3 separate regions of the Homo sapiens genome follow, and all the other regions are linked to region 1. Evidence: promoter capture Hi-C in human tissues and cell types (Jung and others, 2019). All regions are on one chromosome and are shown on one strand. The core of a region is centred on a gene start or on the middle of the fragment in contact, and the rest is flanking DNA. Distances in the headings are between cores, read along the strand shown.

Region 1 (3,212 bases), core at 291-2,790:
ATACAAAAAATTAGCCGGGCATGGTGGCGGGCACCTGTAGTCCCAGCTACTTGGGAGGCTGAGGCAGGAGAATGACGTGAACCCAGGAGGCGGAGCTTGCAGTGAGCCGAGATCACGCCACTGCACTCCAGCCTGGGCAACAGAGCGAGACTCCATCTCAAAAATAAAATAAAATAAATAAAAAGTTCATTAACAGTTTGACTCAAGAATGAGTTATCTGGTGCCTGACATGATTAGAATGCTGCCTGAAAGGCCTTTCTGCACTGATTATATGCATACAGTTTCTCTCTATTATGAATGATCTGGTGTTCCATAAGGTCAGATAGTCTCCTGAAGGCTTTTTCACATTTAGACATTCATGTTGGCTTTTGCCCATATGAATTTTTTGGTGCATACACAATAATAATTCTGTCTGAAAGTTTTTCCACGTTGACTACATTTATAGGCTTCTCTCCAGAATGAGTTATTTGCTGTTCAATAAGGTGAGAATTCTTGCTGCGGGATTTTCCACACCAGTGACATTCATGAGGTTTCTCTCTAATGTGAAATCTCTGATGCCATATAAGTAATCAGCTCCAGCTGATTTCCTACACTCAGGACACTCGCAGTTTCTCACCGGTATGATTTATCTGATGAGCAACAAGTGAGAACTCTAACTGAACCATTTCCAACACTGATTACAGTCACGAAGCTTCTTTCCAGTATGAGTTATTTTATGTGCAACAAGGCCAGAGCTGTATAGAAAGATTTCCTACCTTGACTACATTCATAAGGCTTCTCTCTATTACACTTTCCCTGATGCCAATTAAAATCAAGGATGTCACTGAAATATTTCTCACATTGATTACATGGAATTGTTTTTCTTCAGTATGAGTTTTCTATTGCCCAATTAGATGAGATCTCCTGCTGAAAGCTCTCTGACGTTCCCGATGTTCCCAGAGTCTTCAGTATACGTCTAACAAGGTGGGAGCACCAGGCTGAAAAACTTTCCACATTGATTACATTCATAAATTTTCTATCTGGTATAAGTTGTGATGTGCAACTAGGTGAGAGCTCCATCAAAAAGATTTACCATGTTGAATACATCCATGGGGTTTCTCTCCAGGATGAGTCCTCCCCCTTTGAGAAAGGCAAGAGCTATAAAAGAAGTTTTTCTCAAATTTATTATAATCACATGAATTATTTTATTTTTTTTTTTGAGTCTTGCTTTGTTGCCCAGGCTGTAGTGCAGTGGTGCGATCTCTGCTCACTGCAAGTTCCGCCTCCTGGGTTCATGCCACTCTCCTGCTTCAGCCTCTGGAGTAGCTGGGATTACAGACCCCCGCCACTATGCCTGGCTAATTTTGTTTTTGTATTTTTAGTACAGATGGAATTTCACCGTGTTAGCCAGGATGGTCTCGATCTCCTGACCTCGTGATCCGCCCACCTCGGCCTCCCAAAGTGCTGAGATTACAGGCGGGAGCCACCGTGCCTGGCCAAATTATTTTATCTTTTAAGATTCTCTGGTGTACATTTAGGGATATACTGGGGGTTGTTTTTTGTTTTTTCCTTTTGGCCAGTAGAGATCTAGTGTTGTTCAAGTTGTCTATATTTACTATAGTTATAAAATTTTCCTCCTGTATGACTTTTCTTCTGAATATTAAAGGGTAAAACATGGCAGAAATAAAGATTATTGTTGGCATGCTTATACAGTTTATCTTTTGTTTGCTTTCTTATTAGATGATTAAGGTGAAGCTCTGACAGAAAGTTGGTACACACTCATTTTTGCACAATTTTTCACTTCCATAATTTTTTTTTTTGAGACAGAGTCTCGTTCTGTCGCCCAGGCTGGAGTGCAGTGGTGCGATCTTGGCTCACTGCAACCTCTGCCTCCCAGGTTCAAGCAATTCTCCTTCCTCAGCCTCCTGAGTAGCTGGGATTATGGGCGCGCACCACCACGCCCTGCTAATTTTTGTACTTTTAGTAGAGTCGGGGTTTCACTATGTTGATCAGCTGGTCTCGAATCCCTGACCTCGTGATCTGCCAGCCTCGGCCTCCCAAAGTGCTGGGATTACCGGCATGAGCCACCGTGCCCGACTATAATTTTTCTAATGATTATTGAAATAAACTTATTTTTCAAACTTTTATTCTGTGAGCCAGGTTTATGGAAATATTATAGTATGAATTATCTGGAGTGGAAAAAAGTTGGAACTCAGGAAATAACAGAAAATTCAAATAGAAGATGACATAGACTCCCATCCTGAAATTAAATCTTATGTTTTCATTTTTGGATGACTCTCGTTTTTGCCCAAGTGCATGCTCACTTTTACATGTCTAGAAAAACTTCATACCTTGTGGCTGGGCTCAGTAGCTCACGCCTGTAATTCCAGCACTTTGAGAGGCTGAAGTGGGCAGACCACAAGGTCAGGAGTTCAAGACCAGCCTGACCAACGCGGTGAAACCCTGTCTCTACTAAAAATACAACAATTAGCCAGGCATGGTGGCGGGAGGCTCAGCTACTCGGGAGGCTGAGGCAGGAGAATTGATTGAATCTGGGAGGCAGAGGTTGCAGTGAGCCAAGGTCATGCCATTGCATTCCAGCCTGGGCAACAGGGCAAGACTGTCTAAAAAAAAAAAAAAAAAAAGAAAAAGAAAAAAAAAAACTTCATACATTGAACCTTACATTCATATTTTCTCTTAACTAATTATAGCAGACATCACTTTCAATTTGCTCCAGCCTACTTCTTCCCCCTCATCTGCACCTCTTTCAGTGTAAAATCCTAGCATTCACCTCCCACACTCTTCTCTATTTCCAAACACAACATAAACAATACTGTAGTAAACACCCCCGGACACCCAGAATTAGTGCCTTCATTTCTATAGGTCAGAGCCCCTCCAGTGGGACTGCACAAGTTGAAGGATAAGTGTATTTTTGATTCTCTTAGGTATTACCAAATTACTTTCCAAAGTGAGAATAATAGTCCCTATTCTTTCCAGCATTGGGTATTATCCTTTGTATTTTGCCAGTATTTTGGGTAAAAGTAACATTTTGTGTAATTTGTATTCCCTAGCTACTTGTGATTTCAGGATCTTTACATATTCTTACTGGTTATTTGAGGTTTTGTTTTCTGTGTTTTGTCTAATTAATATTTTTTTCTTTTTTGGCACTTTATAGGCGTTCATGATAGTTTATCAATGTTAATCTCGTCTGTCATTTGTGTAACAAATATTTT
Region 2 (3,212 bases), core at 444-2,943, 480 kb after region 1:
TAGCTACCATATATTAGATGTCTCCAGTGTCAATCCCTTTCCAGATACCCCAACCTGCATGTCCATAGCCATTTGATGCCTACACTTATTCGTCTCTGACTCTTCATATGGCCATAACAGTCATCCTGATATTTGCATAATATTCTAATTATGTTTATTACCAACATGCTCATCTCAGCTGATGCAGCTTCCATAGCTACAGCTACTAAGACCAAAAACCTCGGGATCCTGATTGCTCTCTTCATGCCCTTACTTTGTGTATTAGGAAACCTAGATGCTGTAACAAAATATCAACTTTGAATCCAGCCACATCTCCTTAGCCATGAATCTTAGTCTGTTAACCCTCACTTGGATTACGGCAAAAGCCTCAACTCTCATCTTATTTCCTCCTCTCTCAACCCCACAGTCTGTTCTCCACTGTACAGCCAGAGGAGACTACAGCCAGATGAAACTGTGGCAACATCACCTCCTCCCTCTGGTCAGTTTCACCTCTAAGCATTTCACATCCTGGTACTAACTCCTGGGTTAACCTTCCAAGTATGTTTATACTGGTTGACAGAAATGGGAATACCTCCATATATCCTGTGTCACAGACTTTGGATCCTGGGTTTAAGGTTCCTCCAGGGTTCCCATATCAAAAAACTTAAAAAAAAAAAAAAAAAGGTACCTAAGAATCCCAGGACATCCCAATCTAAAGAGCATGTGGATAGGAGTTAGGGCCAGTGAGGGAATAACACCCTCCGCTTCCCTGCGGAGGTTCTGCAAGTGCTTCTGCAGCCAGGAGTTCCTGAGAGGAGAGGCACAAGCTACAAGAATGTATCCCTGATGAGATTTGATAAGCTCAGGCCTCCCTGAACTCTTTCTTGGCCCTGTAACTAGGTAAACGCGAGTTGGTTGTCTGAACTGAGCGCCTCAGTACAAAATGTCATCTCTTAGCACCTATCTGATCTGTAGAGGTTGAACAAGAATTCAACCTCCCAGGGCCCAAAAGTCATCCCCTGTGTTCTTTTTCGACTGGACTTTGGGAAACCTTTAAAGCCTGGACATTGATCTTTTCCTTCCTTTGTTGGAAGCTGTCCATGGCTTCCAGCGTTCTCAGGGTGAATACACGGTCCTCAGCCTGCTCTTCCAGGAGGAGCTCTGCCTCACACTTTGCTCCCGACAGGTGCCTGTGGACCCTAGGTTACGATCCTCTCGGCTCAGTTCATCTCCAGGCCTTTGCCTGCACCGCTCCCTGTGCCTGTAGCTCTCCTGAGCGCATCCCGCGGGTGTCAAAAACGGGGGCCCATAGAGAGCGCCTCAGTGTCCCGACGCCGGGTTCAGGGTGTAAAACCTTGAGCAGGCGCCGCTTCCTCTCTGCTTTTGGACTTAGGTAAAGATGAGGTGACCTGAGGGCACGGAAGACGCCACAATTACCTGAGCCGGGGGCCTCAGCGCGGCCGCCGCCATCCGACTGGGTGGGGAAAGCGGGGTCGAAAGGAGGGGGCGAGCAGTGCAGGTACCCGGGCACGGTGGTCCCGATCCCGGCCTTGGTGCGGGTCACGCCTAGCGCCTTTAAGGAGCTGCAGAGCAGCCTCTGTGCAGTCGGGACAACGTCTCGTCTCCACCTTCTGGGTTCAGTCACTTCTACACGACCCAACACTCCGCGGTCTCTCACTGGAAAATACACCCAACACCAATCAAAATGGCCACTAGTAGAGGACGCCGGAAGTCCCACCTTTATACTGTTTCCGCGGAAACGCCTTTATTTTGAGCCCTCATTGGCTCTGACGCGCTGTCATTCGACGCAGAGATTTCTGGGTTATGTAGTTTCCTCAGGTTCCAAGACAGTTCCAAGGCGGTAAAGAAGGCCTTCTCAGAGGCGCTTGATTGCACAGAGTGGTGAATAAACACTACTCTGGCCTAAGTGTCATCTTCCCTCAATTTGACTATACTTCTGCATGTATCTATTTCATGTCTATTTTCTCCTTGAAAGTCTATATCCCCTGTCAAACTATGCTGTCAGGTATACCCTACCATCACGTTCACTTACTTGCAGGAAAGGCCCAGCTCCATCTCAGCGGCCTGTCCTTAAAGTGCATGTCCTTCTAGGGTAGAGGATAGTCTCACCTAGCCTTAGAACCCGTATTGAGATTTTTGGAGATTAGTGTCTGTAACTGATCACTCAAGTATTTGAAAAAATATTATTTTAGATTTTGGGGAACTCGAGCTCTCCGATGCTAAACTTATTATTTAGGATGCCCCCAAAGACTAAAAATCCAAATTATCATAACGTTTTGAACAGTCTTTCAGTCGCAAAATCCCGGTACTGGCAGCAGAGGCTGATAAACATTATTGTGTTATAAATTCACATGAATGCACTCTGAGGCATTAGAGTCAGTTTCTCAGTCTGTCAGGGACAAGAGAGAACTAATCCAGATAGGACAAGACAAGGAAGATAGAGGAGAAATGTTGTGTTCCCTAAAGCAGGAATACATGCTGAATCTCTGTCTGTGATTCCCACAGAAGACAACTCTCCTGCCTATAAAATCAATCATAGTGTCCAGTACATTGAGCAACACTTTTATCCACTTAGTATCCCTCGCTTGAGATTCCAACTTATATTCAATTAATTCTGGATTAATTTATCTAAGATTTATCAATCTTACAGGAAGACCAATGAAAGAAATGCTATTTTGGTAGTGATAAATGGCTGCAGTTTTCAAAGGTGGGGCACGTATGCAGAAGATGCTCTCCACCTGTTGATATTGGTTGTGTCTTAAATCCAGGAGTTCATGTTATTGCTGGGAAGTGGCTATTTTTTTTTTTTTGTATTAGATAAAACAGACTTTATTTATTTCTTTTCTTTTTTTTTTTTTGTGACTATTCTTTATTTCTGTTTCCATGGCAAGGAGTGTTTTGCCTAATAAATTAATGTTATGGATGGGATTACAGGCATGAGCCACCATACCTGGCTAATTTTGTATTTTTAGTAGAGACGGGGTTTCTCCATGTTGGTCAGGCTGGTCTCGAACTCTCAACCTCAGGTGATCCACCTGTCTCGGCCTCCCAAAGTGCTGGGATTAAAGGCATGAGCCACTGTACCCAGCCGCTCAGTTCTTAAAAAACCTATGTCTTCTATGTTCAGGGAGAAGAGGCATTTAGAGCAAGAGCTTACTCATTCTCCATTTCTGCTCAGAAATAAAACTTGCTTGCCTTTTTTTTTTTTTTTC
Region 3 (3,212 bases), core at 713-3,212, 310 kb after region 1:
TTTTGTATTTTTAGTAGAGACGGGGTTTCACCATGTTAGCCAGGATGGTCTCGATCTCCTGAACTGGTGATCCGCCTGCCTCGGCCTCCCAAAGTGCGAGGATTACAGGCGTGAGCCACCGTGCCCAGCCTTATTGTTCTTTATAAGACTGATGTCAAATTACTAAAAGGAGTTGAATGTAAGTTAGAATATCAAGTAAAGGATACTAAGTGGGAAAAAGTGTTGTTCAATTAATTGAACGCTATAATGATTTGTGAACCCCCCAAATTTGAGACAGGTCTCAGTTAATTTAAATAGTTTATTTTGCTGGCCAGGTGTGGTGACTCATGCCTGTAACCCCAACACATTGGAGGGTGAGGCAGGCAGATCACGAGGGAGATCGAGACCATCCTAAACAAGGTGAAACCCCCGTCTGTACTGAAACTACAAAAATTGGCGTGATGCCACGTGCCTGTACTCCCAGCTACTCGGGAGGCTAAGGCAGGAGAATCACTTGAACCCGAGAGGCAGAGGTTGCAGTGAGCCGAGATCGCGCCACTGCACTCGAGCCTGACCAAAGAGCGAGACTCCGTCTCATAAAAGAAAAAGTTTATTTTGCCAAGGTTGAGGACACATGCCCGTGACACAGCCTCAGGAAGTCCTGACGACATGTGCCCATGGTGGTTGGGGTACAGGTTGGTTTTATACATTTTAGGGGGACATGAGACATCAGTGAATATATGTAAGAAGTACATTGGTTCCGACCAGAAAGGCGGGAACAACTCGAAGCAGGGAGGGGACTTCCAGGTCACAGGTAGACAGGTAGAGAGACAAATAGTTGGATTCTTTTTAATTTCTGATAAGTCCTTCCAAAGGAGGCAATCAGAATAGGCATCTATCTCAGTGAGGAGAGGGAAGACTTTGAATAGAATGGGAGGCAAGTTTGCCCTGAGCAGTTCCCAGATTGACTTTTCCCTTTAGCTTAGTAATTTTGAGGCCACAAGATTTTCCTTTCACAGATTCTATCAGCAGGAGAGTTGTTTTCTGTAGGAATCACAGAGATTCAGCTTTGCACTCCTGCTATAGGGGAGCACATCCCTAACTTCCTTCATTTGCCTTAGGCACTCTAAGGCTTCTGAGGGCCTTCAGACACATTATAACACAACAACGCTTATCAGCCTCTGCTTCCAGTGCAGGTATTTTGCGACTGAACGACTGTTTCAAACGGTGTGGTAATTTGGATTTTTAGCCTTTAGGAGAATCCTAAATAATAGTTTTAGCTTGAGCTCCCTATTATTTACCTTGCGCTCCCCGAAATCTGAAACAGTATTTTTCCAGATTCTTGAGTGATTAGTTACAGACACTAGTCTCCAGGAATCTCAATACGGCTTCTAAGGCTAGGTGAGACCCCTCCTCTGCCCTAGAAAGGCGCCTTTTTTTTTTTTTTTTTTTTTTTTTTTTTTTTTTTTTTTGAGACAGAGTCTTGCTCTGTCGCGCAGGCTGGAGGGCAGTGGCGCGATCCCAGCTCACTGCAAGCTCTGCCTCCCAGGTTCACGCCATTCTCCTCCAGCCTCAGCCTCCAGAGTAGCTGTGACTGTAGGCGCCCGCCACCACACCCAGCTAACTTTTTTTTTTTTTGAATTTTTAGTAGACACGGGGTTTCACCGTGTTAGCCAGGATGGTCTCCATCTCCTGACCTCGTGATCCGCCCACCTCCGCCTTCCAAAGTGCTGAGATTACAGGCTTGAGCCACTGCGCCCGGCCAGAAGGGTGCGCTTTTTAAGGAGAACCCCTGACCTGATGGCGGGCTTTTCCTGCAGATGGACTCTGGGTATCGCTCTTTTTAGCGCCATGGAAAGTGGGGAACTACATTACCCAGAAAGCTCTGCGTTAAACGACAGCCGGTCAGAGCCAATGAGCACTCGGAAAGAAGGCATTTCCACGTGTGCACGTAACGTAAGGCTGAGACTTCCGGGGTCTCTAGTAGCGGCTGTGTATCGGTGACGCGGGTGTTTCCCCAGTTTGTGGCCCCTGAGTGCTGGGGGGGGACCGCGGTGACTGAACCTAGAAGGTGGAGAGGAATCGTCCTCGGTGCCCAGAGGCGGCTCTGCAGCCCCGTGACGGCGACCACTGCTCCCGGGCCGTGCTTCCCCAAGTAGTCCGATGGCAGCGGCTGCGCCGAGGCGCCCGACTCAGGTAATTGTGGCGCCTTCTGTGCCCTCAGGTCACCCCATCGTCACCCAGGTCCTAAACCAGCGAGGGAGCGGCTCCTGCTCACGGGTCTGTAGCCGGTACCCGGCGTAGGAACACTGAGGCGCTCGCAGGAGGGGTCCCTGTGTAACTGTCCAGTGGGGGTCCCTGTGTAACTGTCCAGTGGGTTCACCTTGCCAGCTGCCTAGACAGAGCCGATTTATGAAGACTGGAGAATTGCGATGGAGAAATAGTAATTGACGCAGAGCCGTCAGGCTGTTCTGGAGACAGGAGTTTTATTATTACTCAAATCAGTCTCCATTAGCATTCCGGGATCAGAGTTTTCAACATTAATTTGGCGGTAAGGGTTGGGACCTGAGATGGATTCATAGAGGGTTAAAGTGAGTTTTTCATGCTGTTTTCTGTTCTGGGTGGGATGGCAGAACTGATTGACCCAGATTACCGGTCTGTGTGTTGTCAGCTGATCCATCCAGTGCAGGATCTGCAAAATACCTCAAGCACTGATCTTAGGTTTTACAATAGTGATTTATCTTCAGGAGCAACTTGGGGAGGTTCAGACTCTTGGAGTCAGAAGCTGCATGACCCCTAAACGGTAATTTCTAACCTTGTAGCTAATTCGTTAGTCCTGCAAAGGCAGGCTGTTCTCCAGGCAAGAAGGGGGTCTTTTCAGGAAAGGGCTATTATCAATTTTGTTTCAGAGTGAAACCATGAACTGAATTCCTTCCCTAAGTTAATTCAGCCTATACCCAGGAATGAACAAGGACAGCTGAAAGGTTGGAAGCAAGACGGAGTCAGTAAGGTCTGATTTCTTTCACTGTCATAATTTCCTCAGTTATAATTTTGCAAAGACGGTTTCACCTGTTTCTGACACCCGTGGGATGCGGTGGGGAGAGCAACAAGCACAGGGAGGGGCGCAGGCAATGGCCTGGAGATGGACGGAGCCGGGAGGATGGAACCTGTCTGGAACAAAGTGTGAGGTGGAGCTCTCCCTGGAAGAGTAAGCAGGCCGAGGGCTGTGCATT

What was found. Contacts are between HindIII fragments. The study calls those that stand out against the background at their distance.
Region 2: the fragment with the promoter of ZNF776 here is called in contact with a fragment that was not itself captured in region 1 in 2 of the 25 tissues and cell types used here (IMR-90 fibroblasts and liver).
Region 3: a contact is called between the fragment with the promoter of ZNF417 here and a fragment that was not itself captured in region 1, in 1 of the 25 tissues and cell types used here (aorta).

What each region holds. Positions count from the first base shown.
Region 1 is chr19:58,222,451-58,225,662 of GRCh38, reverse strand. It overlaps the pseudogene LOC100419847. Among named protein-coding and RNA genes, the nearest start is that of ZNF544, 4.9 kb to the left of the region's middle. The HindIII fragment of the contact is 6,243 bases long and covers 1-3,212 here.
Region 2 is chr19:57,745,296-57,748,507 of GRCh38, reverse strand. It overlaps ZNF776 (zinc finger protein 776), which reads right to left and starts at 1,693. Exons shown (of 3, transcript NM_173632.4): 1 at 1,417-1,693. The coding sequence starts at 1,449. RefSeq lists an enhancer at 1,632-1,681. The HindIII fragment of the contact is 15,716 bases long and covers 1-3,212 here.
Region 3 is chr19:57,915,342-57,918,553 of GRCh38, reverse strand. It overlaps ZNF417 (zinc finger protein 417), which reads left to right and starts at 1,962. Exons shown (of 3, transcript NM_152475.3): 1 at 1,962-2,175. The coding sequence starts at 2,143. RefSeq lists enhancers at 1,586-1,645, 1,042-1,897, 1,916-2,205. The HindIII fragment of the contact is 14,944 bases long and covers 1-3,212 here.